Regions from separate parts of the Homo sapiens genome. Here regions 2, 3, 4, 5 and 6 are each linked to region 1. The links are contacts of gene promoters, found by promoter capture Hi-C in blood cells and fetal thymus (Javierre and others, 2016). All regions are on one chromosome and are shown on one strand. The core of a region is centred on a gene start or on the middle of the fragment in contact, and the rest is flanking DNA. Distances in the headings are between cores, read along the strand shown.

Region 1 (4,407 bases), core at 259-2,758:
AACATGTATTGAATATTTATATGTGCCAGGCACTGTGCTAACTTCTTTATAGATGTTGCTTCATTTAATTCTCACAGTAATCCTATGAGTTAGGTACTATCAGTTTTTGTGTGTGGGGGGGGCGGGATGGGGTGGATGGCAGAGTTTCACTCTTGTCATCCAGGCTGGAGTGCAACGGCTCGATCTCGGCTCACTGCAACCTCTCCCTCCCAGGTTCAAGCCATTCTCCTGCCTCAGCCTCCCGAGTAGCTGGGATTACAGTCCCGCATCATTAGACTCCGCTAATTTTTGTATTTTTAGTAGAAACGGGGTTTCACCATGTTGGCCAGGCTGATCTCGAACTTCTGATCTCCACCTGCCTCAGCCTCCCAAAGTGCTGGGATTACAGGCGTGAACCACCGCGCCTGGCCTACTACCAGTTTTTAAATTTTACAGGTGAGGAAACTGAGCTATAGAGGGGCTAAGTTACCCCAAGTTCACACACCTGAGAAGCGGTTTAGGACCCGAGCCCAGGTTTGAGCTATTAACTGCACTTCACTGACGCAAAAATGGATGCATTCATTTACTCATTCATCCAACATGCATTTGATGTTGGTAACCAGTTAATATCTGAAAGCTGGGGGATATAAACTGAACATAGAGTCCCATCTCCATCCTCAGGAAACTCATGCCCTCCGGTGATGGGGGGCAGGACAAATAGCAGAGAGACCGCCTTATTTTACAAGATGTCATTGTTCTCTGAGAGGCTGAAAAGATTTTCTATCACCACTAGCCTCCTCCTCTCCACGGCCATTTACAGAATGGGCAAACCAGCCTCCCAGCGGAAGACCAAGCTTGCTAGCGGTCAACGTTGCCGGCAGCTCTGCAAGCGCTTCCAGCGGGCGTCGCTCTCCTTTCGGGGGTGGTACTTTCATTCGGTCATCCTGTGAGTGTTCCACTTCCCGACGGAGGCCGAGCACTCACACCGCGGCGGAGGTACCCGTCACCGCAGAACCGGGTGGCTGGCTCTCCTCCAGGGAGAAAGCCTGTCACTTATTCCTCAACACTGTTGGGAAGTTACCTAGAAAAGTACAGACAGAAGACCTAGGCTTGCGTTTTAGAATCGTGGAGTGTTAGCGCTGGCCAAATCGTTGGACACAATGTAAGCTTGATCAGGAAAATGAGCTCCAGGGTCTCACAGGCGGGGCCTGGAATCTTGGCGCAATCTGCGACCCTCACTGCCTCCTACAGTCGGGGCTGAGCGTTCTTTCAAACAGCCAAAGTAATCACTTAAGTCCAGCAATGATCTCCTTGGAGAAATCAAAAGATCCTCCCTAAGAGACGGCCTTGGAGGGCATCGCCCCTGGGGCTGGGCACAGCACGTCTTCCCGGCCCCGGCGCGGGAGGAGGGTTTGGGGACAGCGGCCGCACTCCGGACCCTTCTTCAGATTGCACAGGAGGAGGCGGTAGCGGAACCTTTCTCCTCCGCCTGGTTCTCGCTTCCACCCGGGCCCAGTTGGGGACGGACGCACTAGAGGCGACCTAAACATGGAGACAGCGGGCGCTGCAACTGGGCAGCCGGCCTCTGGGCTGGAGGCTCCGGGGTCCACGAATGACCGGCTTTTCCTGGTTAAAGGTAAGATGTGCTGTGGTGAGGTGCGGGCGTCGGGGTGAGTTAACCCCGGACCCTGGCTTGCTCTGGAGCGGGCATTCCCACACACATCCCGCTCTGAGAGCCCTTAGCTTGTGCTTGCCCCTGAGTTTAGCCCGCGGAGTCTGGCGGCCCAGGGAGGGTAGGTCGCTTACTGGGTGGAGTCTCCCCTTGGGCGGGGCGGGGGGCAGATCCCGCGAGCTATTCTCCCGGGCGTGCCATATTTCCCCGTCACCTCTGCAATTGTTCTAGAGCCTTGCCTTTTCTGATTGCCATCGTCTCTTCTCCTCCCCGTGAGAAACTTCACGCTGTGGTCCCAGGGGAGAGGGGAAGGGAAGCTGAACCTTTTCTCTGCGCTCGGGAATAATAATTCGGAATGACCCAAGGAACCAGAGGTCGTGCGGTCACGCGTGTTTCTCAGCCGCTGTCATTTACTGTTAGCAAGAGCTGCTTAGCCATGGTTTCTTGAATTTCAAAAGTGATTTTGATTGTAACTCGAATAGTATCTTAAACTTACTTTTGTACATCTTTTTAACCTCTTTTTATTTAATTTTTTTTAATATCCCCCCTCCTCCCCGAAACTCTTGGCAGGTGGAATTTTCCTTGGTACCGTTGCTGCAGCGGGAATGCTAGCTGGATTTATTACAACATTATCATTGGCTAAAAAGAAAAGCCCTGAATGGTTCAATAAGGTTGGTGACACTGAAATCCATTCATAGCATTGTTATTGTTTACAATATATGGCAGCTTTTGCGTAGAAAAAATAAAATATTGATGGTCTTTCACATTGCTTTAAGATGTGAATTTATATACGCTCATGGATTCTAGAAATGTACAAATTAACCAAGTCTTTATTTTCATTTAGAAGGATGTACTTATGTGCTTTCTTAAATTTTAGCGGAACAAGACTTTGAAAGCTTATCTGGTACATTTCCTATTCACAACATGACTTTGAATCTAAATTTGGGCCAGGCATCGTGGTTCATGCCTGTAATCCCAGCACTTTGGGAAGCCGAGAGGGGCAGATCACCTGAGGTCAGGAGTTTGAGACCAGCCTGGCCAACATGGCGAAAACCCATCTCTACTAAAAATACAAAAATGAGCCAGGTGTGGTGTGGCACTCCTGTAGTCCTAGCTACTCGGGAGGCTGAGGCAGGAGAATCACTTGAACCCAGGAGGCTGAGGTTGTAGTGAGCCCAGATAACACCACTGCACTTCAACCTGGGTGACAGAGCGAGACTCTGTCTCAAAAATAAATAAATAAATATTCACACAAATAACTGTGTAATTACAATTTGATGTGTGCTATGGAGGAAAAGTGTTACGTAAAACATCATAAAAAGTCAAGTTTCCTTTCCACTTACATTTATCTTTAATAATCATACTTAAGCCTTATCGATACCATAATGGCAAGAGACCATGTTTAAAGTGTGCTTGGATCCCCTCTGAATGCTCTAAGCTTATATGGAGCTTCCTAAATCACTGCTATGGACCTTGTGGGTCATTTTCTCTCTATGTTATAGAATGTTTTCAGAGCAGAAATATATTTTGTGGTGGAAATCAGAGTAGTGCCTTAACAGTAGAGTTTTGGTTGATTTCTAAGCCTAAGTTATGTTAATCCTTGGCTCACTGATCTTTTTAATAATCTGATGAAAACTAGGGATTCTCTGGGGCTGAAGAGCGCACGTACACATATCACAACTTTCCATCCTATTTTGTTATTCTGAGATTTGATCATCACAGATGCTCTTCGGGGTCTAACAGTGGTTTTCAAACTGCAGTCCACAGAACCCTGCTGATCCTTGATCCTTGGGTCCATGAAGTCAGAACTATTTTCATAATGATACTAAGATGCTTGTACTAATGGTACAGAGGCAATGGAGAGTAAAACTGCTGATACCTTGGTCTAAGGCAGTAGCACCAAACTGTGAAAGTCCTTGTGTCCTTCATTACAAAGTACCTGTATTTTTTAAAGCCAGTATTACTTAACAGTGTCCTTGTTGAAGAAATAAAATAGTTAATTTTATTAAATCATGACCTTCAAATAAACCTCATTTTAATATTCTGTGTAAAGAAATGGGAAATACAAGGCCGGGCGAGGTGGCTCACGCTTGTAATCCCAGCACTTAGGGAGGCCAAGGCGGGCGGATCATGAGGTCAGGAGACTGAGACCATCCTTGCTAACACGATGAAACCCCGTCTCTACTAAAAATACAAAAGAATTAACTGGGCGGGTGGCGGGTGCCTGTAGTCCCAGCTACTCGGGAGGCTGAGGCAGGAGAATGGCGTGAACCCGGGAGGCGGAGCTTGCAGTAAGCCGAGATTTCGCCACTGCACTCCAGCCTGGGTGACAGAGCGAGACTCCGTCTCAAAAAAAAAAAAAAGAAAAAAAAAAAAAGAAATGGGAAATAAATACATAAAGCATTTCTATTTTATACTGAAGTAGGATTTTTTCTCTAGAAAAGCAATTGAATTGCAAGCTGAACTAGCCACTTTTTTCCTATAGAATATCATTTTTACTTGAAAGAATATTTGGCAGACATCTTAACAATGAATAAAATGAGCTTGTCTTTTCAAGCAAACAATTGTCAGTATTTATTGCCACTGATAAAATTCAAGCTTTCAAGTGAAAATTAGATTTTAGAAAACTTTTATCCCAGCACTTTGGGAGGCTGAGGGAGGCGGATCACTTTAGGCCAGGAGTTTGAGACCAGCCTGGGCAACACGGTGAAACCCCATCTCTACTAAAAATACAAAAATTAGCTGGGCATGGTGGC
Region 2 (4,874 bases), core at 738-3,237, 360 kb before region 1:
TGAGAAAGACAGAGAAGTGGAGTCTTCCTCCTGCTTGGTTTCCCCATGGTGAGGTCTGGCTAGGCCAACAGTTACACAACCTCGGTGCAAAGCCCTGACGTGGTGATGGATGTAAGTGGCCTTGGCATCCATCCCCCTTGTCTTCCTCCTCTTCCCAGGGACTCCATCACTCTGACTACCTGCCGTCTCTTTCCCTGTCCACGGAAACAGACCAACCTGCCACTCTTTATAGCGGTGGTTCTCAAAGTATGTTCCCAAACCTGTGCCATCGATTTCACCTGGAGCCGTATTAGAAATGCACATTCTCAGGCCTCATCCCAAACCTATGAATCAGAAACTCTGTGGGTGGGCCCAGCAACCTGTGTTCTCTCCAGTCCTCCGGGTGATTCTCATGCCCCAACATTTGAGACCTGCTGCTTTGAAGGACGTTGGAGGCATCGCCTCCGCTCTGCTGCCAACAGGCTTGGGCACAGGGGAGGTGGGAGAAGCCGAGAGTGATGGAGATCGGGGCCCACAGAAGCTACTTCCTTGTCATGTGGGGAGTTCTGAAATGCCCCCTGCGGTCCCGCCTCACTGCCCATTCATATCCTACAGGATGTCCCTGGTTTCTTGTTGTTGGCACGTGACCTTCACGACAGTAGTTTTCAGATCCTGAAGAACCTGAGTTGGAAACAATTCCTTATGCAAGGGGAGCCACACAGGTGTCCACACAGGTCTCCTGGGTGTGCACAACCACAGGGTTCCGAGGCTTCCTCCACTGAGTGTGGCTTAGCTCTTAGTTCACAACCAAGCAATCCGCCATGTCTTCAAACAATGAGAAGACAAGAGCGGTTTTCAAGAAGTGGTGTTGAGAGAATGGATGTGTGGCTCCCACACCTAGCAGGCTGCAGGACCGCCTCCCTCCCCCACTCCAAGCTCAGGGTTTTACCCAAACCCAAGCACCTCTGCTTCTTGCTCTTAGTTAACATCTTACATTGCTGAAGCCTGCAACACCTCTTGAAATTTTTCAGCAACAATGTCTTTATTTCCTTCTTTCTTTCCCTCCCTCCCTCCCTCCCTCCCTTCCTTCCTTCCTTCCTTCCTTCCTCCCTCTCTCTCTTTCTTTCTTTTTTGAGACAGAGTCTCCCTCTATCACCTAGGCTGGAGTGCAGTGGCGTGATCTCGGCTCACTGCAACCTCTGCCTCCTGGGTTCAAGTGATTCTCCTGCCTCAGCCTCCCAAGTAGCTGGGACTACAGGCACACACCACCATGCCCAGCCATTTTTTGTAGCTTTTTTTTTTTTTTTTTTTTTTTTTTTGAGACGGAGTCTCCCTCTGTCGCCAAGGCTGGAGTGCAGTGGCGCGATCTCGGCTCACTGCAACCTCCGCCTCCTGGGTTCACGCCATTCTCCTGCCTCAGGCTCCTGAGTAGCTGGGACTACAGGCGCCCGCCACCACGCCCAGCTAATTTTTTGTATTTTTTTAGTAGAGATGGGGTTTCATCATGTTGGCCAGGATGGTCTCGATCTCCTGAACTCGTGATCTGCCCACCTCGGCCTCCCAAAGTGCTGGGATTACAGGCGTGAGCCACCGCACCCAGCCTTTTTCGTATTCTTAGTAGAGACGGGGTTTCACCATGTTGGCTGGGATGGTCTGGATCTCTTGACCTTGTGATCCGCCTGCCTCAGCCTCCCAAAGACAACAATGTATTTCTTTAGCTAAGGATTTTATCATTTTCCCTAGAAAATTAGGAGGAAAAATCCCAAACAACTCTCTTTATTACTCCTAATTTTAAATATTTCTGAGTATGTTAAATTTGCCAGTGTTCAGAGCAAACCAAAGTATAAGCCATGTTTTCTTCTCTCTTTTTTTTTTTTTTTAAGCTAACAAATTGGTCTAGGTCTAGAATGGCACTTAAGGGAATTAGCTTTATGTTTACAGTGATTTATCCTGTCAGCTGTTCTTCATTTTCCTACTAAGACCTACTTGCCCTCTGCTTCTTGCTCTTTGCTGGTTGATACCATTTTTTAAAAAGGTTGCTAAAGTTGTAATGTCTGGCGACCCCCCAGCCCTCAGATAACATGCTTCTCTACGAGCAAGACCCTCAGTGTCTGCACCACAGCATTTTAGAGGCTCTGGCTTGTGGGTGGGAGAGATGACAGATTTGGGGAATCATTAGGGGACCCTCAGAACACAGTTTGGGAGCAGTTGCCTGTACCAGGGTGCAAAGTTCAGGAGTCCCCAAGGCCACCCTCAATTCTGACACCCAGTGTAAGGTTGGGGCTCCCCACAACCACCCTCAGTTTGATGATTGGCTAGTAGGACTCACAGAACTCCGAAGAGCCTTTCTATGTGCAGTTCTATTACGGTGAAAGTTATCCAGATCAAAGTCAACCAAAGCAAGAGGCACACAGGGTGGAGTCTGAGATGCCGGTGCAGAGCCTCTGGCTGTCCTTTCTCAGAGGGGCTGTGTGGACAGGGCCCATCTCTGCCTGCAATGATGAGACAACAGGCATGGAATAGTGCCAACCAGAAAAGCTCACCCAAGCCTCAGGCCTGGAGTTTTCATTGGGGTGGGTCATGGGGACAGGTTGGCTATCTCTACCACTGGCCTGGGCCTGCAGCCCCTCCAGAGACCAAGCTGATCCTTGGGGCCATAACCCACATGGCCAGCACAGACTGCCTGGCCGGTCCAACCCCCCAGATAAGCAGAGAGACTCTTACCACACAGACAGTTGCAAGGGCTTAAAGATGACTAGCAGAGGACAGAAGCCAGTCCTCTCTAAGGACACGGTTAATCCTCCACTGCACACGAGGCTACTCAAAGCAAGTGCAGCTCGGCACCATGCAACTGTTTGATCCTGGTCCCCGATGAGATAATACAGAGATGGCGTATGTGTTTAGAAACAGCTACGGCAATTGGACAGAGTATGTCTAATACATCTAATCATGAAACAGTGGGACTTTTCGTTACCTATTTAAATTTTTTCCCCAGTAATTTAAAAATTATATTTTATACAAGTACTAATGTGCAATGAATAGGAATTTTTTAAAACAGTGAACACTGTTCTTTATCACTCATGGTTCGAGAAGGGCTGACCTCCACTCTGTGCCATCTCTGTCCCGGCCACCTCTGTGACCTTGGATATGACCTCTCAGCTCTCTGGTTTCCAGGGTTCTCTTTTGTAAGCTGGGGCAGGAATGGGTGAACTGAACAGTTTTTTCAGATTTTCTTTTTGACCATGATAAGAAAATATATCTATGTCATGACCCAGGACCTGTTTCTCCTTGTTCCAGGCAAAGCAGTTTGGCATTTCCTATTCTCATCCTTCTGTTCTCACCCCTTCTATCTAGAAAGAAGACAGTGGTTTGCGCCCACTACACTGGTTTTATGACCCGTGGAGGGCATGGATCTGAGGTGGGACACCCAGTTAGGTGGTCTTTAAAGCGATTTCCTGCCACTGGAGGGACCTTGAACAAGATTCCTGTGTGAGCATCCAGAGCCAGGGCCGGCTGGGCTGAGGTCTACAGATCATGGGCATGTGCAGAAGTCATTATGCTCTTTCTGTGACTCGACTAAGCAGGGAGTTTTCTCCTTTTATTTCTTAGAATAAAAATGTCAAAACCCTGAGATATTCACATGAGGGCATCACTGCTTATCCTCCCCATCGTGGTCAGGGGTGGCCCAGGCCTGTGAGTCAGGAGCAACTCTCCACGTGGGATTCCCAGGGTATGCCTGCGCCCCATGGCGGAGATTGCTCAGTCTGGGGTGACTTGAGGGCATGGTCCTGGCTTTGCTGCTCCCCTGCCTCTGCTCCAGGGCACCCTCATCCTCGCTTGCTGCTGCAAACCGCCTCAGCATCCAGTCTAGAGGCAGATCATATCTGGTGTCTTCTTGTGGGTTATATGGGCACTCATTGGCTTTTACATAAAACACTGAGCGTTGAATGTAGTTCAGCTTGTTACCATGGGTTACAAAAATGGAAGCAGATTCTGTTAAAAAAAAGAAAAAGCTCTTCTGCTCCCCTCTTAGAAAAAGCACCATCCCCCTAAACACTTCCAAGCGACTCGTCTCCTCCCTGGCAGGTGACGGGTGCTGAAGAAGGGGCCTGCGGAAGACCTCTCAGAGCAGATGCTGAGCAGGATGAACTGACAAGGAGGTGTTTGGTGGGAATGAATGCCAGTCCCTTCTTTCTGATCATGCAGAATTTCTAATAATGCAGAAATTAATAATGCAGAATTCAGCCACATCAGCTGGAAGCTCACGTGTCAGTTCCTGAGAACATACAGAACCCCATTGGTCAGGAGGAAGTTCCCATCACAGGGGAGCCGACATGTCCAGAGGTGACCGGCTCCCTTTCATGAGGTTCCTAGTTAACATCCTGTATGTTATGGAAGGGAGGGGTGCCTTGAGAAGCCTGGGGGACAGGCAGAGAGATCCACAACAGCGTTGCAGGTGAACTGGAGGTGGTTTCTGTGCTTCATAAAAGGGCCCTTCACATTTACACGTTCAGTTACCGCTCATCATGCTCTGGGATTGCGTTTTATTGCATAAAGTCAATGTTCACCTAGATCTTAGGAGGACAGCTGCAGAAGGCAAGGAACCAGGAGTCCTGATAGGTAGCAGAGCATCAGCTGACAGGGCCTCACCGTGGCCTCAGCACTGCCGACCTGCGGTTGTTATCCAGGCACATGGTGAACCCTATTTGGCATTTCCATGAGAAGATGGGTTGGAAACAACCCTTGGTGGCCTCTGAAGCCATCTGTTCTCATTATCTCCAGAAAGTGTGTTTTCTAGCACAGCTGCCACACTGACCCAACTGATTAAATTTCAATCCCAGCTACTCGGGAGGCCGAGGCAGGAGAATTGCTTGAACCTGGGAGGTGGAGGTTGC
Region 3 (4,417 bases), core at 268-2,767, 430 kb before region 1:
TTCTTCTTTCTTTTCTTTTCTTTTTTGATAGGGTCTTGCTCTGAAGACCTTGGAGGCTGGAGTGCAGCAGTGAGATCACACCTCACTGTAACTTTGAACTCCTGGGCTCAAGTGATCCTCCTGCCTCAGCCTCCTGAGTAAGTGGGACTACAGGCATGCACCACCATGGCCGGCTAATTTTTAATTTCTTTTTGTGGAGACGAGGTCCTGCTATGTTGCCCAAGCTCCTCAAACTCCTGGCCTCCCCATCTGCTTCTTAGTCTTCTTGTTACCATTCCTCCTGAGACCTACGCTCCAGCTGTGGGGACATTTCTCAGGCCTACCCCCTATGCTGGTGCCAACCCCTTCACCCAGAATCCCTCCACCCGACGCCAGCCCTAGCCCCTATTCCTTTCTTTGATTGCCTGCTCCTAGTCATCCTTCAAAGCTTGGTTCAGCTGCAAGCTTCCCAGTATGGCTGTGCAAGGGGCATTGCAAAGAGGTGGAGGGTGCCCTGTGCACATCTGAGGTCACTGTAGATTATGACAATTTTCTGGTACATAGTGATAAAATGAATGGTGCCACTGAGGTCATCAGCAGGGCAACTTCTGTCACTTCCTCCTGGAAATGTTCACTGGCCCTCCCAGTTTGCGTTGGGTGACTCTTCTCTGTCATGGCCATGTCATACCAAACTGTGACTGTTTATTAGTATCCATGCTCTTTTGGAGGATGAGCTCTTGGAGGACAGGACCGTGTCCTTCCCTTCTGTATACCTGGCACAAGAACTGATGGGCAGTCCGTGAAGGTTTGTTGAGTGAATGAGCGTGTCCCCGGTAACAGAGTGCCGTGGATAAGGCCCCAGGATCCTGAGTTAGAATCCTGGTGCTGCCTCTCCCATGCAGGGTGACTTAGACACAGCACTCCACAAGTAGCCACCCCATACCTCATACAAAGAGTATGGGGCTCAAGTGAGAAAGTGGCTGCCAAGCACTGAGGGAATGCATGGTGATTCTTACGACTGAATATTTTCCAGTGCTGAAGCTGCTTCTGTGTTGTGCTTCCTAGTCCACTTTTCTGGACTCCCTCTCTCGGTTTGTTTATTATTATTTTAATCCTCCTGAGTTTTACTAGAGAGGCAGCACCATCTTGGTAAATATCTTAACTGCCAGCTCCTGGTGGGGGGAGGGGGTGGAAGTTGAAGTGGAATTCAGTGCAGTGATGTGTGAGATAATGGAACACACACACATTACAGCTAAAGTCCAAGGGAAAGGCTGTCAGAATTAGCTGGATTCTCCCGGCGTCCTCTCTGCACCGGGGCTTGCGATCTGGCCCTCGGCCGCAGGTTGGCACAGCCTGCTTTGTTGCTGAGATGCCCAGTTTCCTCTCGCTCCTGCCCTCTGCTGGCCGGAATCAGATTCTTTCCCGCATATTTGACTCTGTTGCCTCTGGGGATCCGCCTGGGGATCCGCCTGCGTCTCGGGGGCCTGGTTTTCTTTGCTTATTCACTTGCTTGCTGGAGTGTCTATTCCCTGCTTGCTGCATTAGAAGCTATGGGGTACACAAGTGATGCTGGTCCTCAAAGTCCACCTTCAAGGAGCAAGAAATTTGGATAATCTTGGAGAAGCAGAAGCCAGGACCTCAATCCAGAACTCTGTGCCTGGAGCAATGAAGGAGTTATTGTCCCCAGACATGGCACACCAGATTGCAAATTTATAAAGACAGGGAATCATACTTATGTAGAGCTTCGCAATTTACAGAGCACCAAGACATACATTTTCCAATTTAACTCTTTTTTTTTTTTTAGACAGAGTCTCACTCTGTTGCCCAGCTAGAGTGCAGAGTGCAGAGGAACAATCACAGCTCACTGCAACCTCCACCTCCTGGGTTCAAGCAATCCTCCTGCCTCAGCCCCCCAAGTACTTGGGTCTACAGGCACTTGCCACCACGCCCAGCCAATTTTTGTATTTTTTGTAGAGACAGGGTTTCACCATGTTGCCCAGGCTGGTCTTGAACTCCTGACCTCAAGTGATCTGCTTACCTCAGCCTCCCAAAGTGTAGGGATTACAGGCATGAGCCACCATGCCTAGCTAATTTAACCCTTTCAAGCAAACCACTGAGGATGGTATTAATGAAATAAAATAGAAATTGTGTTGGGAGACTGACATTTACTGTCATCAGATGTGATTACTGGCAAACATCTTGTTAGTCAGCTGATGTTATGTCTCACCTCAAAGGACACACTTGATGGGTGGGTGGGGGAAAGCCAGTAAGCCAGGAGTTTCAAAGGAACACTGTGTGGTCTGACCCACACTGTCTTTCCGTAGCATCTGAACTTTCTGTCCCTGCCTCTCCAGCAATGTCTGAGAAGATCAAAGTCTGAGGAGACAGATGTGACTCCTGGAGAGGCATCCAATGGGTAGTTCTCCACTTCTGCCTTGCAACCGTGATCCCAGAAATTCTGAAAGGGCACTTTTAGGATTAAAAGCATTTAGCTTCGTTTCTTCCTTTGTAGGAATGGAAAATCAAAATCACTCTGAAGTCGTGGTTTCTTTTAAGATGCAAAACAACTCCTTTCAAGCCATTGCTTTTAAATCTCTCACATTCAAGCTTAAATCAGTGAGTGACATTGTCACCGTATAATCCGACTGAGTTAAATCGAATAGTGGGAAAGTGGCCTTTTCTTTCTTTAATCTTTGACAAAATAAGGCAAATTCTAAAATTATGCCCAACAGTCTATCAGTAGTCTTTGTTGTTCCACATGTTCAAAGAGAAATGTCTATAAACTCTCAGCTGGTGTTTTTCTAACCCGGAGGCATTCTCTTCCCTACCAGGAAGGGAGGAGTGACTAACATATGATGCTGAGAGAGGCCACTAGGAAAGAGATGGCTGAGAGGGAGAATTTCTCCCGGTGTCAGAGGCATGCGAACCAGAGCAACTCCATCTTGAATACAGAGCTGGGTAAAATGAGGCGGAGACCTACTGGGCTGCATTCCCAGACTGTTAAGGCATTCTAAGTCACAAGATGAGATAAGAGGTCAGCACAAGATGCAGGTCATAAAGACCTTGCTGATAAAGCAGGTTGCAGTAAAGAAGCCGGCCCTATCTCACCAAGACCAAGATGGCCACGAGAGTGACCTCTGGTCGTCCTCACTGCTACACTCCCACCTGCACCATGACAGTTTACAAGTGCCATGGCAATGTCAGGAAGTTACCCTGCATGGTCTAAAAAGGGGAGACATGAGATTCACCCCTTGTTTAGCATATCATCAAGAAACAACCATAAAAATGGGCAACCAGCAGCCCTCGGGGCTGCTCTGTCTATGGAGTAGCCATTCTTTATTCCTTTACTTTCTTAATACACTTGCTTTCACTTTATTCTATGGACTCACCCTGAATTCTTTCTTGCACAAGATCCAAGAACCCTCTCTTGGGATCTGGATCAGGACCCCTTTCCTGTAACACCTGCACTGCTATTCCGACCATAGTCTTGGATGCTTTGAGGTTGTGATAGCTGCACAGGTGAGAGGGAGAGCCCTCACTCAGAAATTTTGCTCTCGAAACTCAGAGGCACAGAGCAGACTTAGGACGTGCTGATGTCCACGCTCACAACATGCATGTTGCTCAGTTCATACAATGTGTGACGCACGTCAGACAGACCCACCTTCAACAAAGCACTTTTATGTCTCAAAACAGGAAGCATCCAAAAAATGCAGCCACCCAACTGCTTCCTTCCAGTAGAATCCTCCTCTTGTCCAGGTTTCTATCCTATCTGTGCTTCCCATTTTCTGTCCTAGAAGTGAAACTGCCTTTGCAAAATTATGACTGAGACAGTGAGAGAGATCTAACTTAACCGACTGCATCTTGCTTCTCACCTCCAAGCTGTCTGTGTTCATTCCTGGGCGTAAGCTGAACTAACTTTGGGAGAAACTTAGTTTATAGTTTAAACAAAGACACTAATAGCTCTTTGCCAAAGCAGACCTCCTTCTTGCTTGGAGACTAGATTGCCTTTGTAGGACTAACATTAGCCACAAGATTAGAAATTATGATTTAGGAGTCGTGCAGCTGGAGGCTACAAGATTCTGACCCTCCCTAAACTGCTCCTAGAAATCAGTGCTTGAGATATATTTGCAGACCCTGCACTTGATGGATCAGCTGGCACCACCCCATCAATAAACTGGCTCACCTGATCTTGTGGCTCCCACCTAGGAACTGATTCAGCACAAGACAGCTTTGACTCCCCATGATTTCATCTCTGACCAACCAGTACTCCTGGCTTACTGGCTTTCCCCCACCCACCAAATTATCTTTAAAAACTCTGCTCCCCAATGATCAGGGAGACTGATTTGAGTAATAATAAAACTCCAGTCTCCCATACAGCCGGCTCTGCGTATATTACTCTTTCTCTATTGCAATTCCCGTGTCTTGATGAATTGGCTCT
Region 4 (4,618 bases), core at 1,883-4,382, 270 kb before region 1:
GCCCTATTAGCCTTGCCAAGAAGAAGTTAGGGCAGCTGGCTGTGCAGTCAAGAACAGGAGGGCAGGGTGGATGGAGAAGATCAAGAACTTCCATGAGAGCTTCAGCTGAGACTCTGTGGCTGACAGATGCAAGCCAGACCTAAGGGACTGGATCAGTCCTGAGGAGCATCAGAGTTGGTAACATTAAAGATAACTGTTCATTTTAATTCTCACCCTCTTAAAGCACATACTATCAGAGATGGTTGCAAGATACTTTTGGTTGATTTCCAAAGTGGTAGGAATCAGTCCCATCACCCACTCAGTCCCCTCACACCACACCAACTCATCCTGGGCAATAATCATTGAGCAGAACTGCTGAGATCCTGGTCCTGCTGTCAGAGAGTCTTTCATTGGTGTGGGACATTGTATTAGTCTGTTCTCATGCTGCCAATAAAGACATACCTGAGACTGGATAATTGATAAAGGAAAGAGGTTTAGTTGACTCACAGTTCTGTAGGGCTGGGGAGGTCTCAGGAAATGTATAATCATGACAGAAAGGGAAGCAAACATGTCCTTCACATGGCAGCAGGGAGGAGAGGTGCCAAGCAAAGGGGGAAAAAGCCTCTTATAAAAGAATCAGATCTCGGGAGATCACTATCACAAGAACAGCATGGGGGTAACTGTCTCCATGATTCAATTACCTCCCACTGGGTCCCTCCCATGACATGTACAGATTATGGGAACCACAACTCAAGATGAGATTTGGGTAGGGACACAGCCAAACCATATCATTCTGCCCCTGGCCCCTCCCAAATCTCATGTCCTCACATTTTAAAACACAATCATGCCTTTCCAACAGTCCCCCAAAGTCTTAGCTCATTCTAGCATTAACCCAAAAGTCCAAGTCCAAAGACAAGGCAAGTTTCTTCTGTCTATAAGCCTGTAAAATCAAAAGCAAGTTAGCTATTTCCTAGATACAATGGGGGTACAGGCACTGGGTAAAATAAACCTGTTCCAAATGGGAGACATTGGCCAAAACAAATGGGCTACAGGCCCCATGCAAGTCCGAAATCTAATAGGTCAGTCATTAAAGCTTAAAGTTCCAAAATAATCTCCTTTGACTCCATGTCTCACATGCAGGTCATGCTGATGCAAGAGGTAAGGCTCCCACAGCCTTGGGCAGCTCCGCCCTATGACTTTGCAGGGTACAACCCCCCTCCCAACTGCTTTCACGGCTGGAGTTGAATGTCTTCAGCGTTTCTGGGCACACAGTGCAAGATGTCAGTGGATCTACCATTCTGGGGTCTGGAGGATGGTGGCCCTCTTCTCACAGCTCCACTAGGCAGTGCCCCAGTGGGGACTCTATGTGGGGGCTCTATGTGGGGGCTCTGACCCCACATTTCCCTTCTGCACTGCCCTAACAGAGGTACTCCATGAGGGTTCCACCCCTGCAGAAAACTTCTGCCTAGACATCCAGGCATTTCCATACATCCTCTGAAATCTAGGTGGAGATTCCCAAACCTCAATTATTGTCTTCTGTGCACCTACAGGACCAACACCACATGGAAGCTACCAAGGCTTGGGGCTTGCACCCTCTGAAGCCATGGCCTGAGCTGAACCTTGGCCCCTTTTAACCATGGCTGGAGTGGCTGGGTTAGAGTCCATAGGCTGCACACAGCAGGGGGCCCTGGACCTGACCCAGGAAACCATTTTTTCCTCCTAGACCTCTGGGCCTGTGATGGGAGGGGCTGCCATGAAGGTCTCTGACATGCTCTGGAGACATTTTCCCCATTGTCTTGGTGATTAACATTCAGCTCCTTGTTTCTTATGTAAATTTCTGCTGTCAGCTTGAATTTCTCCCCAGAAAATGGGTTTTTCTTTTCTGCTGCATGATCTGGCTACAAATTTTCCAAACGTTTATGCTCTGTCACCTCTCAAATGCTTTGCTGCTTAGAAATTTCTTCCACCAGTACCGTAAATCATCTCTCTCAAGTTCCACAAATCTCTAGGGCAGGGCAAAATGCCACCAGTCTCTTTGCTATATCATAACAAGAGTCACCTTTATTCCTGTTTCCAAGAAGTTTCTCATCTCCGTCTGAGACCACCTCAGCCTGGACTTCATTGTACACATCACTATCAGCATTTTGGTCAAAGCCATTCAACAAGTCTCTAGGAAGTTCCAAACTTTCCCACATCTTCCTATCTTCTTCTGAGCCTTCCAAACTGTTCCAACCTCTCCCTGTTACCCACTTCCAAAGTCGCTTCCACATTTTCAGGTATCTTTATAGCAGTGCCCCACTACCCAATACCAATATACTGTATTAGTCCATTTTCATGCTACTATAAGGACATATCTGAGACTGGGTAATTTATAAAGGAAAGAGGTTTAATTGACTCACAGTTCTGAAGGGCTGGGGAGGCCTCAGGAAACTCACAATCATGGCAGAAGGGGAAGCAAACACATCCTTCTTCACATGGCAGCAGGAAGGAGAAGTGCCAAGCAAATATCTCATGAGAACTCACTCACTATCATGAGAATAGCATGGAGGTAACCACCCCCATGATTCAATTACCTCCCACTGGGTCCCTCCCATGACACATGGGGATTATGGGAACCACAATTCAAGATGAGATTTGGATGGGGACACAGCCAAACCATATCAAGCATTGAGATGTCTAAAAACTCCTCCGAGATGTTGATATAGTTTGGTTTTGTATCCCTGCCCAGATCTTATGTTGAATTGTAATCCCCAATGTCAGAGGAGGGGCCTGGTGGGAGGTTACTGGATCATGGGGGTGGATTTCTCCCTTGCTGTTCTTCTGATAGTGAGTTATCATGAGATCTCATTGTTTAAAAGGTGTAGCACCTCCCCTTGCACCCTCTTCCTCCTGCTCTGGCCATTTAAGACCTTCCTCTTTTCCTTCCTTTCTCTTTTCCTTCCTCCATGATTGTAAGTTTCCTGAGGCCTCCTCAGCCATGCTTCCTATACAGCCTGTGGAACCATGAGCCAATAAAACCTCTTTTCTTTATAAATTACCCAGCCTCAGGTAGTTCTTTATAGCAATGTGAAAATAGACTAATACAGATGGGAATCTGCAGCCAAAGATGAGAAGGCCTGCTCCAAGAGTGGTCCACCAGCATCCATATCATCTGACAGCCTAGCACATAAGCAGATTCTTGGCTTGTCCCAACTATGGAATGGGAATCTGCATTTCACCGAGATTCCCCAGTGATTGAAACTTTCAGGTTTGAGAACCCCACTGTGGGGTGCCAGTAAATACTCCCCAGTCCACACATTCCTATGTGCCTCTTTATTATGTACTCAAATACACTCACTTGTATGATAAAGAGCTACCCTTAGAGAACGCAGCTTAGTCAGGTGAGGGGCCACATCACAGAACACACCCACACCCAAGCGTTTTCACGCAGAGCACTTGGTGATTTAGAACAGCTCAGGGTATCTGGAGAGCTGTGCCATTCTGCCCCCAAGCAGGGCTGCTGTCACTCACTGACAGTACCCATGATTCGCATGTCATGATTCAGGGGCTCGAAAAGGAATGCCCCTCCCTGCAGTCTTCTTTAAAAAATGTATATTTTTTAATTTTTAGAAATAGTCTCACTCTGTCACCCTGGCTGGAGTGCAGTGGTGCTATCATAGCTCACTGTAGCCTTGACCTCCCAGGCTCAGGTGATCCTCCCACCTCAGCCTCCCAAGCTGCTGGGACTATAGGTATTCACCACCATGCCTGGCTAATTTTTAAATTTTTTAAATTATTTATTTATTTATATATTTATTTATTTGAGAGATGGAGTCTTGCTGTGTCACCCAGGCTGGAGTGCAGTGGCGTGATCTTGGCTCACTGCAACCTCTGCCTCCCCAGATTCAAGCCATTCTCCTGCCTCAGCTTCCCAAGTAGCTGGGACTACAGGTGTGCACCACCACGCCCAGCTAATTTTTGTGTTTTTTTTAGTAGAGACAGGGTTTCACTATATGTTGGCCAGGCTGGTCTCAAACTCCTGACCTCAGGTGGCCCGCCTGCCTTGGCCTCCTAAAGTGCTGGGATCACAGGCATGAGTCACAGTACCCAGCCTAATTTTAAATTTTTTATAGAGACAAGGTCTCACTATGTTGCTCAGGCTGGTCTCAAGCAACTGGCCTCAAGCTAGTGATCCTCCTACCTTGGTCTCCCAAAGTGGTTACAGGCATGAGCCACTGTGCCCAGCCTTGGTCTTCTTTAAATGGCTGTCAGAGGTCTGGAAAGCTGCTATAGCCCTTTAGCCTAAGGCTTTGGTGTTTGTGAAAGTACAATCCCAGAGTTAAGGAGAGTGCTTTGAACTGCTACTGGCCATGAATTATTCATGGAAAATTAAAGTTCCAGGTTCGAGGGAGAGCAGGCAGTGTGGAGGGCAGGGCGGGGCAATGGCAGGAGGAAGAAGCAGGTCTCCTACTTCTCTCTTCCTGAGGCCCAAACCTTCTGCTTAGAATAACTGAACAGCTGTGGAGCCAGTCCAAGGACTCTGGGTGGCCTTGCCCTGCCAAGCAGGATACCCTCTTTTGGCAGGTGCCACATCTGCCTGGCACCCCAGGTGGCTGCCCCATCAAATGGCACTAATGTCACAGGCATCTGGAGAGGTGCT
Region 5 (4,369 bases), core at 1,648-4,147, 320 kb before region 1:
CTTGAATTCTTTTTACCTCTCTAATGAGGATTCACTGAGGCTGATAATCAAATGAAGTTTGCATTCCACAAGCGCATATCGGTAAGGTCTGGGTGCACAGTGGGTCTGCCCTGGACACAGTCATGGTGGCTTTTGTCATTTCTCCCTGTTTTACACATTTGGAGACCAAAAGGTAGGAAGCAGTAATAACTTGGAAACTCATTCTAGAGACCAGGTAGATTTGCTCAATATCTATTTGTTGATCATGGTTTGATTTATCAGTTGAAAATATTCTCCATAGGTGTAACTCACAAAGAATCTGTATTTTGAACTTGTACACTCTGACTTGGAGGCAGCGTGCCTCAGTGGGCACATACTGGCTCTGACATTGGGTGGCCTGGGTGTGTGTCCTGACTAGCCGGCATTTACTTGCTGTGTGATCTTGGGCACATTATTTAAACTCTGTGCCTCACTTTCCTCATCCATAGAATGGGATATAACGGTGCCTACCTATAGGTACAGAGTGAGCTTGTGAAAGGCTAATGCAGATAAAGAACTTAGAGCAGAGCTTAACACAGATTCAATAAAGGTCAGCTACTGCCATGGTTCGTGTCATCGTCATTATTACCATGACCACAGTATCAACGACTGCGGCCCATGTGGCTTTCTCCCTATGAACATTTCTATTGTGTGCAAATCAACTTTCGAAACTGGTTTCCTCAGACTTCTGGCTGCTTCCTTCCTGCACATGTGTCCTGTCTCCTTGACGATGCTAACCACAGCTCCCTGCACGCACCTTCAGTCATTAGCAGGGCCTCAGTCATTAGCAGGGCCACAGGCATCTGTCTCTCTATTTTGGGCTTTAGGAAATTTCCCCCCAATCAGACACAGATTCAATTGAAGATCAAAAAAGGTGTGAAGTGTGACACGACAAACAGCCAGATCTCGATTTCACGAAGGCCACATCCACGCGGCACAAAGTGGTCACGTGGTGGCGGCGACCCATTCCACCAGGGCGGGCGGCCTGTGCTAACGGCCGAGGCATTCGGTTTTCCAAGGTCTGTTGAAGAGCACGATGCGTCCTGAGTCTTACCTTGGTGAGATGGGCCCACACAGGGCAACACAGCAGTTGGTAAAGATATTTCCGTAGCTGTAGGGATTGTAATTTTCTTTACCTCTTTTATTTGACCAGGATCCTTTAATCTGAAAGAAAAGGAAAGTCAGTAACAAGCAATATCTTCCACACCAACGCACAGTTGAGGTGAGCTGGACCATGAGAGGCTCATAAAGAATGCAAATCATCTTTAATCCAAAGAAATGGAGGTATTTTTCTTAAAGAAAACGGGCATTTACTCCAAACTTGGAAATGTCCTAAAACAGCAGGTTAGAATAGGGAAAGAATAACATTCTCAGGGACAGTCATCTTTTATTTGTACCACATGGTACTAAAAGGCCATCTCATATAAGCCAGCAGAGATTTTTTTCATACTCACATTTAGTGCCCTAAATAATAATTAAATGAATGGTAGGTGAAATGGTTCCCCTAATTGCTAATTTACAGACTGAAATAATTCAGCCTCTTCTTGTGACCAAAATGGTCTGTTTTGCATATTCTAATATTTGTAGCTACCAAGTACAAATAACTGTATTAATATTCTCTTATCTCATGTGTCTTATCACAACCTATTTTCTCAAGCTTTTGTTTAAGGTAACTGGACCTATCCTGAGACATTTAATTCAAGTGTGGATAGAGACTTCTATCAAAATCTAAGTATAAAGAGCAAAGAGGACCACGCTGCTCTGGAAACATTCTCTAACATTTTGTTTCCTCTTTTTTTTTTTTTTTTTTGAGATGGAGTGTCGCTCTGTCACCCAGGCTGGAGTGCAGTGGCGCTATCTCAGCTCACTGCAACCTCTGCCTCCTGGGTTCAAGCGATTCTCTGGTCTCAGCCTCCTGAATAGCTGGGATTACAAGCGCCTGCCACCACACCCGGCTCATTTTTTTGTATTTTTAGTGGAGACGGGATTTCACTGTGTTAGCCGGGATGGCCTCGATCTCCTGACCTCGTGATCCGCCTGCCTCGGCCTCCCGAAGTGCTGGGATTACAGGCATGAGCCACCGCGCCCGGCCTTGTTTCCTATTTTCATACTTCCTCTCCATCTGTATTAAGTGCAGGCAGATAATCCTGAATAAAAAAGTTAAATTTTGGGTCAGGGCAATTTCCTCCCACAGAGACATTAAATATGAAAGGCAGACTCAAACGTTCACTCCAAGATGTTGGCCCGCCATGGTCTCTACCAGGGGAAGTGTGATAAGAAGCTTACGAAACCATTTCAAAGGAATACAAAGAACACTCTCTTCAGGGCCAGAAATGGGTGTTGCTTGGCCAATCTTAGTAACTAATGGATGTGGTCGGAAAAACAGAGAACGTGGAGATTCCCAGAAGAGAAACGTGCAGAACGGCAGGTGGAGAAGTTTCCACGGCACCGTCTCTGTTCCCAAGGGCTCACATCTGGAACGGGATGTATGGGAAAAGCTGGGCTCAACCTTTTCTTTCCTTTTTCTCCTCCATTGCCCAAAACCCAAGAACACGCCCGTGTCCCGTGTGGTCAGGAACTTACGTCCTCATTTGTTGTCTGGTTGGAGCTGATCAAGTAGGTGTGGAATCCTGAGAGGCCAACGATGGACCAGACAGAGAAGAAGCACACCACAGCCTCCAGGACGGTGATGCGAGTCAAGGAGGCAAGCGGAAGTGAGGGACCGCGCAAGAAGTGGATGTGATGGAGGCCTGGAACCGAAACACCCCCGGGCACAGGCCTCTCTCTAGTTGCTGGCCTCTCTCTCACCCGGCCTTGCCTTGCTTCCTGCTCTTCCGGGAATTTCGTCTAACCAGATGGAGGCCTCCGTCAGGGCAGGGGGTGTCACCTGCCCCGGCGTGGAGCAGCCTCTGTGGCTCCGTGATGCCTGGAGGGTTTCCTGGGCATCACCTACTCACTTCTTTCCTCTGACTTCTACTTGAACTTCACCTTTTTCTGTGCCTCACTGTGGAGCCAGCGACTGTGGCATCCTGATCAGGAAGCACACTGGTTTGAGTTGGCTGCAGCTCAGGCTCTGGGTGAAAGGACGACATATTGACTCGCACATCAATCACAGACTCTAATTTTGGCTTCTGAATGCTGAGGACTGCAGTGCCAACAGGCGTCTCCCCTGAGGAGAATGGCTTCTGAGGCCCAGAAAGCCCTCTGCTTTAGTGGACGGCCTCTTCTCTGCTTACAGAGAAGGGGAAGAAGGAAAAATAAGCCCCTGAACCGGCGGTGGGATTTCTCGGAGTGACGTCAGGGTGAGGGGTATTTTTACCTGGGGGAGTTTTCTCAGCCCTTCAGCCAACCCCTGACCTATAAGGCCATCCTCAGCTGCTTGATAGGCAGCTGGGAACCACGAGTTCTCGCAGGACATAGAGAGAGAGGAAGTCAAGAGTTCCACAAGACGTGTCCAACACAAAGGGAAAAAGCTTGGTGCTCTTCAGCAGATCAGATCCATCACCCGAGAGTGTGGCAATGTGAAAAGGCCAGAGACTTTTTCTGTCCCACAAATGTTTATAACATTCTATTTACAGGATACAGATATTTCTCAGGGGGAAAAATCCATTCATCCTGGGTCTGGGAGTTTACACATACATCTGGCATCCGCTATCGATACATTACAGGATGGAGAAAGAAACGCGCCTGCTCTCCTAATGTTTCCGAGGATGAATGCCATATACATCATGCTGGAACATGTCAGTGATGATCTTCTCCAGGCTGGAGATAATTCATCTTTAGACCAGAGGGCTGAGCACATTACCCAGTGCGGTGCCGTGGTCTGCTGTGCCATGGTTAACCGATGCCACCATCTGGGCATACAAGGCTGCACACAAAACAGGAGTGAATGGGCTTCTGCCTGTTGACTGACTTTCAACATCGCACTAAACCACTGGGTCTGCTCTAGAAGGAGACGGTAGCGGGGAGTGGTAGGGAACCAGAGAGACACAGGAAGGCAGACCCCCTACCCACAGCTGCTGCCAGCCTAGGCAACCCCTGCTGGGCAAATGGCTACAGTGGGGGCTCTGTGTGCACATGGGGACACATGGATGGTGGCCCAGGCAGCAAAGATGGTCTCATTCTCAACTGCCTTCCCACAGAACGGGGCTAAAGAGGCCCCTCTCTCCACCCACATCCCCCCTGCCAGGAGGGGACAGACTTGGGAGGCAACTCCCCTGGGATTCAGGCCATGCACTGGCTGGAAAGAAGAGGTGAAGTAGAGTCCAGGGAACACAATGCGGGAGCCAGTGGGAAGACTGAGTCAGGAAAGCTGGGGTGTGTGAGAGGGAGATGACATTAGACACTAGTG
Region 6 (4,702 bases), core at 1,003-3,502, 390 kb before region 1:
CATTCCAGGGGTGCCCACCTGACATGGCAGAGGATGGGTCCATGGTTAAGCCACTGCGCTCTCACCTAGAAGTGAGCACAATGGTGGGTTGAGGACATTCTGGGAGGTTCGGGAGCTTTTCTGCCATTATCCTGGGAGCAAGAGGCACCCTGCAGTGGGATGCACCCTGCGGGCAGGACCTGGGCATGGGGTCAGAGTGGGCCGGGCCAGAGCACACTGCCTCATCAGGGAGTTGTGGCTGGGGAGGCCCCTAAGAAACTTCCACAGAAAGGGCCCGCCACCCAGCAGGCAACAATGGCCAAGGGAAGTCCCCAGTGGCACTGCGTGAATAAAGACTTTGATCTCCTCTGCCTCCCTTCTTCCCTTCACAGCACATTGGAGAAAAGAGAGGAGGAAGAAGGAGTTGGGCAGAGACTCTCACCCCTCTGCAAACCAAGGCTCTGAGGCTGGGACCTACTACTCCTTCTGCTAGGAGGTGAGGATGTGCAATGGAAGTGAATTAAAATGGATTGGACAAGACTTTGAAAAAAAAAAAACCCTGTGTCATCCAAGAGATGGAATCAGAATAGGATCCCTAAGGGACTAGACGTTTATGAGAAAAATAAAGCAATTTCATGTTTGTTTCACTTGTTCCGTAAAGTAGTTGGCCACACATGTCTAGGATGAATTACACCAAACCAATCTAGCTTTTATTTTTTAATTCAAGACTTCTACACTCACCATAGATGGATAATTTCTCTATGCTGATAAAGCCTGTTATATGTTTCTTGCCATGGTGTCTTTTTAGAATGCATAGAGAAAGAGGGATATAGGATCTGAGCTCAAAGAGGACCCCAAAGGATGTGGGAAAAATGAAACGCTCATACACTGTTGGTGAGAATGGAAGTTAGTACAACCTCTGTGGAAAATTGGAGAGTTCTCAAAGAAGGAAAAATAGAACTACCCTTGGATCTGGCAATCCTACTACTGGTTGTTATATACCTGAAGGAAAATAAATCATTATATAAAAAAGACACCTGGACTGTCAGCTGTAGCAGTATTCACAATAGCGAAGTCCTGGAATCAACCCAAGTGCCCATCACCAGATGATTGGATTAAAAAGTGGTACATACATACATCATGGAATACAACTCAGCCATAAAAAAGAATGCAATATTGTCTTTTGCAGCAACATGGATAGAACTGGGGGCCATTATCCTTAGTGAAATGGCCCAGAAACAGAAAATCCAAAACTTCACTTTCTTACTTATATGTAGGTACCCCCAGACATACAGAGGGAAATAATAGACACTGGAGACTCCAAATGGTGGGCAGGTGGGAGGGGTGAGGGATCACCTCTTGGGTTCATTGTACACTATTTGGGTAATGAGCATACTGAAAGCCCCGATTTCACCACTGTGCAATATATTCATGTAAAACAACTGCATTTGTACCCCTAAATCCATAAAAATAAAACATTTAATAAAACTAAAAAAGACTTTGAAAAAAATAAGAGGCTCATGCCAAACCTGAGTGGCATTTCTATAGCTATGCTTTGAAGGCCCATCCTTAAACACGCCCGGCTCAGCCTCAGTTCCTTGCACGTGACCTACTTTTTCAAGAAAACATTTATGGAGCACTTCCTGTGCGTAAGACCTTGGTGTTAGGAGCTGCAGAGGCAAGACTGTTCCTTACAACCTGGTTTCCTTCTGGATGCTTCCTACCTAGTGAGCACCAGGCAGTAAATAAAATAAGGGTGGAGCCATGGCTCTGAGCAGGGGGTGGGCACTGTGGTGTGGGAGAAGGGGGTACTTCTCCCTCCTCAGGCTGGAAGAGAGGTAGAGCAGGCATGCACTCTGACCCGAGCAGGGCGGGCCAGCCGAGCACAAGCTTCTTTCACTTAAAGGAGCAGGAATGATAAAGAGTAACTTAGCTAGGCTGGGTGGGGTGGATCACACTTGTAATAGCAGCACTTTGGGAGTCTGAGGCCCAAGAGTTCTAGACCAGGCTGGGGAATACAGCCAGACCCTCATCTCTACAAAAAATGAAAATTAGCTGGTGTGGTGGTGCATGCTTGTAGTCCCAGCTACTTGGGGGACTGAGATGGGAGGATTGTTGAGCCAGGAGTTTGCGGCTTCAGTGAGCTATGATCGCACCACTGCACTCCAGCCTCGGTGACAGAGCAAGACCCTGTCTCAAAACAAACAAACAAACACCAAAAAAACCAAGGGACGAACGCTGGCTAGATGGATCAGGTGTCACAGCCATTGCTGTTTGGCCAGTAAAATGCAGCCCAGCAAGTGCGGAGATGACAGACGGGCATGGGATTGCTGAGCAGGGGTTCGCAAAGGACAGAGGTACTGGACACTGAATTTGCTTTGTGTTGATATTGTTTCCCCTTTTCCCAAAAAGAGGCATGGGAAGCATGGCATGAATCACTTATGGGCAACGTGAGACAAATTTCTAAAATGGTTTGCTGCACGCAACCAATTTCACATTGAAAGCCACTCCTGCTAAATGCTGAAAAGCCATAAATCATCCAGCCTAATGGATTTTGTCCCATCTATTCAGTATCTTCCAGGGCATTGAATTTAGAATGTAATGCACTAAGAAAAAAACAAAACAAAACACCTCCCTAGAAAACCATATAAGCTTGAACATTTTCAAAGTAAAATCGCTCATGCTAAAAGCATCCCTCCCTCCTTGTGAAAAGACCTTGACCACTTCTCTCTTGCTGGTCTCCCCGTAGCAGACAACGGCTCGCCTCCCAGTGCCACAGGAAGAACGTGGCTGCCTCAACATGAGCCCAGCCCTGCCACTCCAGGTGTGAGACCTGGGCAAGCAGCATCAGTCTTGCAGCCACAGCTTTCTTGTCCATCCAGTGGACCTAGGGCTATTGTGACTATAAATGAAAAAAGAACCTAAGACAGCCCTGGCCTTAAGTAGTTGCTTAAAACGTGATGGCCGGCATGATGGTTTTTTAAACATTTGGGTCCCCTGCTCTCTTCCCCCATGTTTCCTAGTGTCTGGGTTGGAGGCAGCCTTAGCCACCTTCTTCTTACCTTGCCTTCCCTCCTTCCTACCTGTGTCCAGGACAAAATGCCTGAGGAATGTCTCTGCTTCATTAAGCAGCAAAACACACAATGACCCTTGTCATTATAGCCGCTATTCCTGGTGGGCGAGGGTCCACCCAGCTCTGGCTTCAGTTAAGCTTCTGACTGGGGAGAGCCTGGGATCCTTTTTTGGGGAAATGGCTCACTAGTTCTTTGACTGGGTGGGGCTATTTTCCAGGCTGCAAGAAAAGAGCCTCGCCCCTGCTGCTCCGAGGCCAGGCTTCTCCCTGCAGAGCCTGGGTCAGATCAGCTGGGATTCCAGGGCTGACCAATTTCGTCATGAGGGTTGCTCTAATTCACTGTTTGGGAAACTCAGCCCTGGAAAACAAAACTGTGTTGCAAGATTTCTTCATTCCTTGGTTTGCACACCATCAAATTACGCATGAGTTTAATGTAATTTGAGCTTTTCTCTCAGATGAAACCCATGGCAAATACACAGAGGAGCCAAAATGCCTACTTTTTAGGCTTTATCTTGATTTTTTTTTCTTTTTATAGGCCACGTATCCCAAATCTTTATAAAAGAGAATAACAAAAACACACACAGATAAAACTGATATCCCTTTTCTTTTTTTTTTCTTTTCTTTACTCTTTTTTTTTTTTTTTTTGAGGCAGGGTCTCACTCTGTCACCCTGGCTAGAGTGCAATGGCGTGATCATTACAGCCTTGATTATAGCAGTGATACATCACTATAGCCTCAATCTCCCCAGCTCAAGCAATCCTCCCACCTCAGCCTCCCAAGGAGCTGGGACTATAGGTGTGTGCCACACCTGGCTAATTCTTTTGATTTTTGGTAGAGACAAGGTCTCACTATGTTTCCCAGGCTGGTCTTGAACTCCTGAGCTCATGTGATCCACCCACCTTGGCCTCCCAAAGTGCTGGGATTACAGGCATGCGTCACTGTGCCCAGCCCAAACTGACATTCTTTATGCCATCAGTATCCAATTAGAAAGAACGCTTAATTCAGAAAAATGTTCTTGATTGTGTCCCTGAGCGTGAGGAAGGCATAGGGAGGGGAAATGTTTATTCACGGCCGCAATTCTTTCAGCCTGGGTAAGGGCGTGGTTCTATGGGACTCTGTGTCCTTCTGGTAGATAGATACCTGCTTCTTCTTCTTCTTTTTTTTTTTTTTAAGAGACGGAGTCTCACTCTGTCGCCCAGGCTGGAGTGCAGTGGCACAATCTCGGCTCACTGCAACCTCTGCCTCCCGGGTTCTAGCAATTCTCCTGCCTCAGCCTCCTGAGTGGGTGGAACTACAGGTGCACACTGCCACTCCCAGCTAATTTTTTGTATTTTAGTAGAGATGGGGTTTCACCATGTTGCCCAGGCTGGTCTCGAACTTCTGAGCCCAGGAAATCCACCTGCCTCAGCCTCCCAAAGTGCTAGGATTACAGGCGTGAGCCACTGTGCCTGGCCAGTACCTGCTTCTTGACCTTGGAATATATATGGTATATATGGAAGGCCACTTCGCCTTGGGATATCCAGTGTGTGGCATCTGTGCCGTTTCTCTCCTCTGCACATGGCAGACATTGTGAATGACACACAGGGCTCTTTCTGGTGTGGCCTCAGAATGCCTCTCAGCCCAATATTCCAGAAAATTACCAACATCCATC

The links. Contacts are between HindIII fragments. The CHiCAGO score rates a contact against its expected background, and 5 or more counts as called.
Region 2: a fragment that was not itself captured here is called in contact with the fragment with the promoter of TMEM242 in region 1 in 2 of 17 cell types (naive B cells and total B cells); the score reaches 8.5 in naive B cells.
Region 3: a contact is called between a fragment that was not itself captured here and the fragment with the promoter of TMEM242 in region 1, in 6 of 17 cell types (total B cells, naive B cells, naive CD8 T cells and 3 more). The highest score is 6.5, in total B cells.
Region 4: a fragment that was not itself captured here is called in contact with the fragment with the promoter of TMEM242 in region 1 in 7 of 17 cell types (megakaryocytes, total CD8 T cells, M0 macrophages and 4 more); the score reaches 7.4 in megakaryocytes.
Region 5: a fragment that was not itself captured here is called in contact with the fragment with the promoter of TMEM242 in region 1 in 6 of 17 cell types (naive B cells, total B cells, M2 macrophages and 3 more); the score reaches 6.8 in naive B cells.
Region 6: a contact is called between a fragment that was not itself captured here and the fragment with the promoter of TMEM242 in region 1, in 1 of 17 cell types (naive B cells). The highest score is 5.4, in naive B cells.

What each region holds. Positions count from the first base shown.
Region 1 is chr6:157,320,620-157,325,026 of GRCh38, reverse strand. TMEM242 (transmembrane protein 242) reads left to right here and starts at 1,508. Exons shown (of 4, transcript NM_018452.6): 1 at 1,508-1,615; 2 at 2,222-2,322. The coding sequence starts at 1,528. TMEM242-DT (TMEM242 divergent transcript) reads right to left here and starts at 1,393. Exons shown (of 1, transcript NR_187268.1): 1 at 550-1,393. RefSeq lists enhancers at 796-1,225, 1,406-1,745. The HindIII fragment of the contact is 1,401 bases long and covers 1,149-2,549 here.
Region 2 is chr6:157,683,669-157,688,542 of GRCh38, reverse strand. No RefSeq gene overlaps it. Among named protein-coding and RNA genes, the nearest start is that of SNX9, 140 kb to the left of the region's middle. The HindIII fragment of the contact is 6,767 bases long and covers 1-4,874 here.
Region 3 is chr6:157,753,782-157,758,198 of GRCh38, reverse strand. No RefSeq gene overlaps it. Among named protein-coding and RNA genes, the nearest start is that of SNX9, 67 kb to the left of the region's middle. RefSeq lists a silencer at 2,588-2,882. The HindIII fragment of the contact is 2,142 bases long and covers 447-2,588 here.
Region 4 is chr6:157,587,426-157,592,043 of GRCh38, reverse strand. The region is part of intron 2 of ZDHHC14 (zDHHC palmitoyltransferase 14); the gene reads right to left. Among named protein-coding and RNA genes, the nearest start is that of MIR3692, 61 kb to the right of the region's middle. The HindIII fragment of the contact is 4,116 bases long and covers 1,075-4,618 here.
Region 5 is chr6:157,644,072-157,648,440 of GRCh38, reverse strand. ZDHHC14 (zDHHC palmitoyltransferase 14) reads right to left here. Exons shown (of 9, transcript NM_024630.3): 6 at 2,602-2,704; 7 at 1,073-1,182. Among named protein-coding and RNA genes, the nearest start is that of MIR3692, 120 kb to the right of the region's middle. RefSeq lists enhancers at 1-425, 2,320-2,820. The HindIII fragment of the contact is 1,192 bases long and covers 2,302-3,493 here.
Region 6 is chr6:157,714,564-157,719,265 of GRCh38, reverse strand. No RefSeq gene overlaps it. Among named protein-coding and RNA genes, the nearest start is that of SNX9, 110 kb to the left of the region's middle. The HindIII fragment of the contact is 762 bases long and covers 1,872-2,633 here.